Regions from separate parts of the Homo sapiens genome. Here region 2 is linked to region 1. Evidence: promoter capture Hi-C in human tissues and cell types (Jung and others, 2019). All regions are on one chromosome and are shown on one strand. The core of a region is centred on a gene start or on the middle of the fragment in contact, and the rest is flanking DNA. Distances in the headings are between cores, read along the strand shown.

The links. Contacts are between HindIII fragments. The study calls those that stand out against the background at their distance.
Region 2: a fragment that was not itself captured here is called in contact with the fragment with the promoter of OR4M2 in region 1 in 4 of the 25 tissues and cell types used here (bladder, dorsolateral prefrontal cortex, heart right ventricle and 1 more).

What each region holds. Positions count from the first base shown.
Region 1 is chr15:22,077,700-22,082,934 of GRCh38, reverse strand. OR4M2 (olfactory receptor family 4 subfamily M member 2) reads right to left here and starts at 2,408. Exons shown (of 1, transcript NM_001004719.2): 1 at 1,325-2,408. The coding sequence starts at 2,310. The coding sequence ends at 1,369. The region is part of intron 7 of OR4M2-OT1 (OR4M2 overlapping transcript 1); the gene reads right to left. The HindIII fragment of the contact is 6,887 bases long and covers 139-5,235 here.
Region 2 is chr15:22,154,204-22,159,391 of GRCh38, reverse strand. No RefSeq gene overlaps it. Among named protein-coding and RNA genes, the nearest start is that of OR4N4, 62 kb to the right of the region's middle. The HindIII fragment of the contact is 9,231 bases long and covers 1-5,188 here.

The DNA.
Region 1 (5,235 bases), core at 1,159-3,658:
ACACTGGGTCTGGCACAAATTACCTCCTCAATTAATAAATAATATATCTGTAAATAAATAGTAACTCTAGGAATAGTTATACCATTTGTTTCTATATATTCATTCCCAATGTTGACAAGGATCTAATTCACTTAAAATTTAGTCCATATTACATTATCAAATTTAAAAAAGAAGACTAAAGATTAATATACCCAATGCATTCTTGCCCTTCAATGAAAAGATTCCCTAGTTTTGAAATTAAAAACTAATAAATTTAAGTAAAAACATAACCTATAAAATCAAATGTTCTAATCTACCTCTTACATTCTGAAGCTTGGAGAGTGAGTTTTTAGTGCTTGAGAATAGGAAATCAGTCCCTAATAATTCTCTAAGGGATCATGGGAACCAATACGTCTAGGTCTGTCAATGGGAAAGAACTCTGAATTAAGCACTAACAAAAACAGCACTCTACCAATTTAAGTTTAACATGAGAGGCAGAATTAGCAATTATGGAAAACATACAAAAGTGGCAAAGGAGATGATAGTTTAGAAAAAAATTACACGGCTAGATGTCTACCAATCCCAGTCAACCTAGAAGCTTTCTCCCCAAGGCTGCTTTCACTCTGAAGGATGTAAGTAGGGACTGGCTACAAAAATTGCTAGTTGCCTGGAGGCTTCATCTGGAATGACATGAATCTCATGTATCAGCCAAATTATACTCTGCTTTGAATTCATAAAAATTGTTTTCATAATGTGATAAAATTTTGAGTTCTGTCTCCAAACTGTTGAATAGACACCACCTGAAATATAAACTGAAATACCTTTATAAGGTATTTCAGTTTATAAGTTGATGGAAAATCCTCATTTTCCATCAACTCTGGAAATAAGAGGAGATAAAGGACAAATAATCTGTTTTTCCAGACCCAGCAAGATGTTGACCAGATACCATTCCACTGAGCCAACACTGAAACATGACAACAATATTTATTTGCTAACTTGAAGCTAGCTGCATCCATATGCTTGCCATTTACTTCATATTTGTAATAGACACGTCTCATGTCTTATTTATTTTTCTCAACATGTTCCCGTCAAAGCCAGAGCCTCTGCAGAGTACTCAATAAACAATTAGTTAAAATGTACTTTAGCAGATTATTATATCTCAAATTCTAATAATGATCTGTTGGGAATTTCAGGGTAGGTGTGAGTAAATTTATTTTCATCTTAATGCCTCTATTTTTTCAATATAAAGAGGAATGAATAGAGAAAAATTATAGTAAAATTTTAATAACACAAATGAAAGGAGGAAGTCAATGCAGCATTATTACTGCAAATACTTCCTGCTTTAGGACAATGATCCTCAGGGGAACTATAAAATGTATAATTTATCTTTCACTTCTCTTTACACAAAATATATTTGGTGACCAACTTCCTCATGGCTGCCTTTACTTCCTTGTTTCTCAATGTGTAAATAATGGGATTACGTAAAGGGAATATTAAAGTATTGAACACAGACACCACTTTATCTAGGGAAAACGAGTCAAATGGGCGAGCATAAATGTAGATGGATGGCCCAAACATTAGCACCACAATGGTAATGTGGGAATAGCAGGTGGACATGGCCCTGTTGGTATTCTCACCTGAGCCTGAAAGTTTCTTGAACAAGGCCAGAAGGAAGGCATAGGACATTAACAGAGCAATCAAACACACCACAGAGATCAGACCACTACTACAGATCATCACTAACTCCTCTGGGAAGGTGTTGGCACAGGCAATCCGGACAACCTGTGTGATGTCACAGAAGTAACTGTCTAACTCATTGGGCCCACAGAAAGGAAGTCGAACAATGAGAGCCACCTGTATGATAGAATGAATGAAGCCCCCCCTCCAGGAGAGAGCCACCAGGATACAGCAGAGACGTTGATTCATGATGGTAGCATAGTGGAGGGGTCGGCAGATAGCAGTGTAGAGGTCAAAGGCCATCACTGTGAGCAAGAACATCTCCGAAGCCCCAGCAAAGTGTAAGAAGAAGAGCTGTGCAATGCATCCATCAAAAGAAATTATCTTCCTCTCCACAAAGAAGTCTATGAGCATTTCAGGGGCTGTAATGGAAGAGTACCAAATATCAAGGAAGGCCAGATTAGCCAACAGGAAATACATAGGAGAGGTCAGATGAGGGTCTAGACTGATGGTGCAAATGATAAGGATATTTCCTGGTAGGATGAACAAATAGAAGGATAGAAATATAACAAATAGGACTAGTTGGACCTCTGGAGTCTGGGATAGGCCAGTGAGAACAAATTCTGTCACCTTGGTGTAATTTGCAGTTTCCATTTCTTCAATTTACTCTTTTCATAATATAGCTATGAAAATTAAGAAACTATAATTAGTAGACATAGCATTTACCTAGAGTTATATCACTGCTTTCAAAATTGTCATACGTTCCCTGTCACTAACAGATTACACGAGGATACATTTGGTTGCCCATTTTATATCTGATAAACCAAGAGGGAGAGAGTATGTGATGAAGTTACAAATTGGAAACATTAAAACTATATGAAGTGTGGCATATATTTGAAACTCAAATCTCAGCTTGTTAATGTTAAAAACTTACTTTTTCTGAAATTTGGCAATGCACTACTTCTTCCCCCAAACATCTACATTAGTAAGCAATATGTGAAGCTACTTCTGAGTGTAGCCAAATTTTAGACTGGCAATCAGAGATGTGGCCTCTTTTTTCTATATCTTTTTTTTTGTTGGGAAATCTTGCCAACTTGGAAACTTAGGCTTGCATTCTAATAGCACACACACAGATCTAGCAGTACTTTAGTTGTGATACAGAAAAGAGATCCCAAGGCTTCATAAGTAGTGAAGGGACATATTTTTCCGTAACTGTAACCAAAACCTGTACAGCTTAATCCTTGGTAACAGGTAACCAGCCACAACATACAGCTATGCAAGGCCCTATATAAAAAATTCTTCTAGCTGTGACCAGATTCATCAATACCTGATACTACATTGAGTATAAAATTTGCTCACCACAGCAGGAACGTAAGTAGGTGTACTGATCTGAGAAATGAGTATGCTTGCTACCCAATTTGATTCTGAGCTGATCTGCTCTGCTGTTTCAAGGTGACAATGGGAATAATATTATTTTTAAAATTTTGCTTACTGCCCTGTATTGAATCTGACACCACTAATAGCACAAAACTTGTCAAATAAAAATGAAATAACAGTTCACATTACCAAATATGCTTTTCTTTAAGTAAGGTTAAAAACTGCCACACCAAAGTAAGTTTTGTTGTAACCAACAGCAAATACAAGAGAGTTGTTTCTTTTCTGTTGATGTGATATTTTATGATATTGCCTCTCCTATTACTTAAAAAAATTAAATATGAAAAGGAATTTTTAAAAAGTTAAGGTTCTGTAAAACCAAATAGACGTGGCTGTGTCCAAACACTTATGGGCACTATGTATACTACTGAGAAAAGAAATTAAATGCGCCATTTTTGGAACCTACTGACTCAATTTACACATAATTTTAACAAACATAGATAAATGACTTTCAATATCTTATAGAAGCATTGTATTTTGAAAAAGGGATGGCTTACTACAAGCAGACACACACACATAAAACCAGTGTTTTCCAGGAATCTGGTAGCAAGCGGAAGAAAGGTAAAAATACTCAGAAATTGAATAGTGTGGGACTATTTAGAAAAGGGATCAATTTCCCCTTGTCCATAAATTGCCCAGTGTGGACCTCAGTGAGTTAATGAAGCATATTTAATAAGATTGAAAAATTTAAAATTTGGTTTAGGAAGATTTTAATCAAAAGAAAGATAATAAGGTTATCCAGAATGAAATATTTCCTAACATTCCAAGAAACAATGATCTTATTGTACTTACCTGGAGGAGGCAGCTCATAGCCCTCATAACTAATAACACAACATTGTGTTATTAGTTATGAGGGCTATGAGCTAGTTATATACTAACTCATTTACATTCACTGATAAGTCAACTATGAGGTTCCAACAATCAAATAAATTTCTAACAAAAGCATCTGAAATATTATGATTACTCAGCTCATTTACATATTTTGCTATAATGCTATGTAGTTTTTGACCAGATGGAAGCGATTATTTGTTCCTAAGTAAATAATTGTCCCTTTATTATTGAAAGGAGATGAATATTTTAAAGCAGTAAATACCATTACAAGATCATATGCTTTTTTATTATTATGGGGACATGATGCAATGATTCTGAGTGTCATCACACAAATCACCCCTTCTTCCTCTGCTCTACTCCATACCCATTCCACCAAAACAGAAGTAGAAAATGGCACTAATCTAGAAAGAATTTATGTGAATGAGTGTTGATGTCTTGAAAAGACAGACATACATCAGGTATTATGGAATAGAAAGGGTGATTTTACCAGAAAAAAGTGTCAAAGAGATTTTCTTTTGTACCTCAGTGTTCAACATATGACATAAAATTAGAAACTAATGATGTATATACTTTGCATTAAGAACCAAAATCAACCACATTTATTCCTTAGGACAAAAATACAAAGGATTCATCCCTCCACACTCCTTGATGAGTGTCTCTGTCCTCCACCCTTCACAAGTGTCAAGTGGAAAAGAAATATTTTGCTGGAGCATCTCAATCCAATAGTCAGGCAGCCAATCAAACCCCCTACTCCCAAAGCTAGTAATGCTCAGCCACTACTCATCACACACACACACACACACACACACACACACACACACACACACCACTACACCATGTCACTTCAAGGAAGAACAAGCACCTAGTTTCCCTACATTAACATAACCATTACCTAAAATACCATAAATGACGCAACAATTCTTATTCTGTCCAGCACTTGTCATTTAACACATGTCAAAACAAAGCTATCTACATGTGATATTAAAAAGTCTATTCCTAAATATATAGCTTCTGTGTCACTTCTGTAAACTATTCATTTGTTTATCCCACAAACATTTAGAGAGTATCTACTATATGCTACCTGCTGAGACACAACAATGAACAAGGAACACTCAATATCTGCCTCATCAAACTTCCATTCTGAAAATATAGACAGACAATAAATAAGTAAACAAATAAAAATAAAATAAAATATAAATAAGTAAAATAAAATAATTGCTACTAGTGCTAAAAGACAAGCAGGAAATAAAAAGGCAATGGTAGAGTAAATAATGATGGGAGTGGTATGTGTGTGATGGAGTATTTTAGAAAAGG
Region 2 (5,188 bases), core at 446-2,945, 77 kb before region 1:
AAGTGCCATTTTATGTTCCTACCAACAGTGAATAAGACTTTCTTTTCTGGAGCCTTGTCAGTATTCACCAATGCTTTGCTGTGCAGCCATTGTAATATTATAGTAAATGAGTAGCAGTATTTAATGGTTGTTTAAATATACATATTCCTAATACAAAGTCTTGATGAACACTTTTTTATACATTGTTTTACGAGGTGCGTGTTCAGATCTATGTATGCCAGAAATGCCTGGCAGCATTAATTTAAGCACACTGTGAGAATGACCCTATAGTTTAAGAAGAATGTATGTTCAGAGCTCTGAGCTAAGAAATCCAGGAGCTGTCCACCCAGAAGTTTATTCCTTGTCTGTGAAGGACGTCTGAAGCCCTGGCCTATCCCTTGGAACACAGGATGTCCAGGTGATTGAGGCTCTTTGTTAAATCTGGAGGTTGCTAGGTAGAGGGTGCTAAGTGAAAATCATAATATAAACTACACATGTTTTACAAATGGTAGTGGTTTTCCTGTCCAACACACTCTTCCTGGGCCACATTGTATGGAAGTCCTCAATACACCCTAGATCTTGTTCATGGGCTCCAGGTCTCCTCTTTAGCCTTTTGGACATGGTGCCACGCCTATTACAGTCAATAGGGGTCTAGCATGACAATTGGGAGGCCCAGAACAAGGTCAAAGAAAATCCCACAAGTTCTTAGACAACGGTGTCAAGGAAGGGGAGACCTGTGGGGAAATCCCAGGCAGGCCATGCACATCTCTGTGGGCCCAACAGCTGCAATCCTTGATGGATAGGGCCTGCTGCAAGTGTACAGGGATGCCTCCAAAATGCCAAAAGTTCTGGAGGACCTGTTGCCTGAGGTGGATGTGACAATGTGACAAAGTGACAGTCAGATGCCTGAGCTGTCGCAGCTGTTGGCCACTCCTGACTGCACTCTGAGCAACCACTGAGGCAGAGCTCACTGCACAGGCTAGGGTGTGTCAGCCACAAGAACAGCTGTAACTATAATGAGATGCCGCCTGCAGGGATAGGATAGCAAATTGGAGACCATTGTTTATTTGGTAGGCCATTTAAAGTGTTGCCGACTGCCACACCAATGCGTTAGGACTATTATGACTACATCGTCCTGGAAGCCTAAGTCCTGGTGTCCGATGTAGAGCTCCAGTGGGAAGGAGATGAAGGTTAGGATGACTCCATAAAGGTTCTTGCCCTGCAGCCCCTGCTTTGCTGTCTCACTTGGTGAACAGAGGATGGGGGGGTCAATGCAGACAAAGTCCAGGGTCTAGGCTTATCAGTCAAATACTTGGTGTCATCTGGTTACATAAGACTATAGTTATTCCATATTTCATTATAGATAAGATAAGATGCAGGTCTACTCATGTCCCAACACACCAAAGCAGTTGGAAACCTTCCAAGGCCTCCTGGGACATTGGCGATCCTTTATTCCCCATTTCGGCAAACTCCTTAGGCCCCCATGGCACTTAGTCAAGAAGGTGCCCCACTGCGACTGTTCCAAAAGGGAGGATGAGGGCTCTGAAGAAGCTAAAGTCACAGTGAAATGAATACAAACCTTGGGAGTTCTAGTGCAGGGACAGCCCTGTGAATTGGATGTAGTCAGTTACCCTGAGGGGTTTAGGTGGGGACTGTGTTAAAGGCAAGGACATAAGTGTGTGTCCCTAAGACCCTGGTCTCAAAGACAGAAGGAAGCTGAAGTGAGATATACTGTTTAGGAGTAACAACCGCACTACATGTCATGCCTTACAAGTGGAGGATGTGACAGAGGGCCACTCCACATCCAGAACAACCTTTAGCAGGCTGGCTAAAGGATGCCTTCCAGACACAAAAGCCTTGGAATACCAGGACACAGTCTGTAGCCAAATGGTACTTGTGGTGGTCACCACCAACATAAAAGTGGGCCAACTGTGCCAGCAGAAGTTAGCCCCACAGAACTTTCCCCCACCTAAGAGAAGGCAGTGAACCACGATGTGGGATGCCACCACTGTGGAATTGGGGGAGCTTAGACTTGGATTCAGACACAAGGGGAGAGAGTGGATCACAGGGTGGCTTCTCTATGGGACAGGGGGTGGAGAGTGTTATACTTTCTGGACTCAAGATGAGTAAAATGGCACCCATCACAAACCATCCAGCCCTATGATGGCACCTTTATGGTAAGTGGTTGCAGGCTCCAGCGGGGCCAGGTCCAATGAGGAAGATGCCCACACAGCTCCTTCTCAATGGCAGACTATAGAAGAGTTGCAGGACATCTTCTGGGAGTTGAAATGAGGCATGCTAATTATGCTGAGAATTATTGAAGTCCCAACAATGAATTGTTTACTGCAAAATAAAAGCTACAATTATGTATTCAGTGCCTACCAAATGGCATGGTGCACTGATTTCCATGTTAAGCCCCCTGGGAGGGCAGCCAACATTTCATGTGCCCCAGGTAGTTGCTGACTTAGGAGAAAAGAAGAAACTGAGTAAGCAAGGGATGCACCCTACTGTGATGAAAAACAATGGCACCAAAGGAAGAGAGACAGCCAAGGAGCCAGTCAGCGTGGCCAGACAACAAATGTGCTCTAACTGGCAACACCTACCAGTTATCTGGGCCCATAGCAGCAATAGGTGATTATGGAAGGGCCACAGAAGTCAGACAGGTTGAACTAGTGATACGACCTGGGGGACTGCCACCCAGACCCTGTTTAGTATACATAGCTTCCATCTTAGAACACATGAGAATGGATATCTTCTTAGGCGTGACCCTCCAAACAACTGCCAGGGAATTCCAACTGAGAGTTAAAGTGGTGACGCATGTGACCAAGCAGAAGGCAAACTGGATGCCGGTAGAGCTGCCAACCCATGGGGAGTCCCACAGCTGGAGCAACACCACCCGCCCTGGGGAGGGGAAGATGATCCAATCATGAAGATTGTTAAGGAGTTAGCCCAGGTAGGCATTAGGAGGCCACTGCACAGTTCCTACAACAGACCTGCATGGCCCATGCAGAGGCCAGTTGGGACATGGAGAATGACAGTAGATTACTGGGAGTTAAATAAGGTGGTCTCCCGAGTGAATGCAGCTGTTCCTAATATCTCCTCCAGTCTGACGAGAATAGGAGAGGTGTTAGCCACATAGCATTTCGTTATCAGTTTAGTCAATACCTTCTTCAGCATTTCTGCTGCCCCACATTCAAGATCAATTTGCATTAACCTAAAAAGAACAATGGACTTTTACTGTCTTGTTCCAGGGATATTTACACAGCCCAACTCTCACAGCCTAGTGACCTCCAACCTCAGTTGATGGGCTGACCCAAAGGGGATACATGTTTTCCACTACATTGGTGTTATCATGGTAACTTCTGAGTCTTTTTTCAGCTTATAAATTGCAGCCCCTGTCTTGCTGTCTCACTTGCTGAACAGAGGATGGGAGGTTAATACAGACAAAATCCAGGGTCCAGGCTTATCAGTCAAATAGTTGGTGTCATCTGGTTTGGTAAAACTAAAGTCATTCCATCTGCCATCATAGATAAGGTGCGGGCTTACCCATGTCCCACCACAACAAAGCAGCTGCAAGCTTTCAAGGCCCTCTGGAGCATCAGTGTCCTTTTATTCCTTTTATTTGACATCCCTGGAGGAGGCTGCTAGGGGAGACTGTGTCCCTCCTAAATTCATGTGCTGAAGTCCCAACCCTTGGTCCTTCAGAATGAAATCATACTTGGATTAGTGTCTTTTAAAGAGCTAAATAAGTTAAAGTGAGATTCCTGGAGTGGGGCCCTAATGCAATCTGACTGTTGTTATAAGAAGGGGAAGCAGGAGGGGGGGTGCACACGCCCCGAGGGACGGCCATGTTACCACAGAACAGCGAGAAGGCGCCATCTGCACGCCAGGGAGCGAGACCTCAGAGGAAACCCACCCAGCTGGCAGCTTGATCTTAGGCTTTCATCCTCCATAAGTGTGAGGAAATTGGTTTTGTATTGTAAGCCATCCGATCTGTGGTATTTTGTCATAAAAGCCCTATAAAATGAATACAGTAGGTAATAGGAGAGCTTCTATACATTGAAAAAGTCGGATGGCCAGACAAACCTGGACACTCCTGTTCAGACCTGAGCAGGGTGATGGACCTGCTTTGGGACAGGAGAGGGGAAGAGATGAACCCAGCACCCAGACCCAGCTGAGCCCATTCCTCAGCAGGCTGTCCCTGGGCCAGAGCTTGCACAGGCAGGAAAGAGCCTGTCTTGGTCTTCAGGGGCTCGTGGAGTTGGACGGAGAATGGTGTAGACTCAAGAACATGTCATCGTTGTGCCCGTGTTTATGTGAATGGGATGTGTTTCTAGGGTGTGCTCATCCCCAGAGAAGAATTAATCAGGTCTCCTGGGCTAGAAAGAGGTTGTGGCATTTGTGTGTATTAATAACTGTAGTCGGACAGTAAATTATGTTAAAATGCTTATGGGAAGGCACAATGGAAAGAAACACTTTGTTACAGAAGGGAAAAAAAGGTAATTATTCAAATGAGATGCCTTTGAAGGTCACTATGCCAAGAGGAGCCGATCGCATGATAGTGTTAGGTTTCACGTTCAGGAGATCAGGAGGGTCCGTCTGCTGGCTTTTATGATACCCTAGACAGAGCTGAGAGTATAATGTATGAATGGAGGGGAGTGGAGAAAGGGGAGGCCAAATGTTTGATGGGAATGGAGGGTCACTATTGGAGCCATTAGGAAATACACAAGCATGATTTGTGCTGAAGCACAGAACAGTGTTCCTGGGGAATATTGTGTTGCTTTGGGAGCTGCTGAACATACAGGAGTTTCACTGTTCTTAGTTCTCGAATTCTCTAGACTCTCTTGACAGCCCAATTTTAAATATTGGGAATATAGGTAAGACACATTCATGGTTAAAAATTCTTAAGTGAAGATGTAGGAAGAAATTTAAAGTAATCAATTTAGGTTATGAAAATTTAGTTATGGTGAACTGTGATGTCTGTTTCTCACATGGAATAATGGAATATAAGTAATTACTCATCTCAGTGGTTCATTTTCCCATAGCCATCAATTACAAAACTGCTGGATAATTTCCTGAATTGTCCACCCTAGAAGTTGACCTCACATTACCTCAGTGAGAAACCGCTAGTCTGGTTGATCCAGCCTCATTCTTCCCATCAGGAATTTTGTGTCTCTGTGCACATATGGCATAGTCCTGGTCAGGGTGG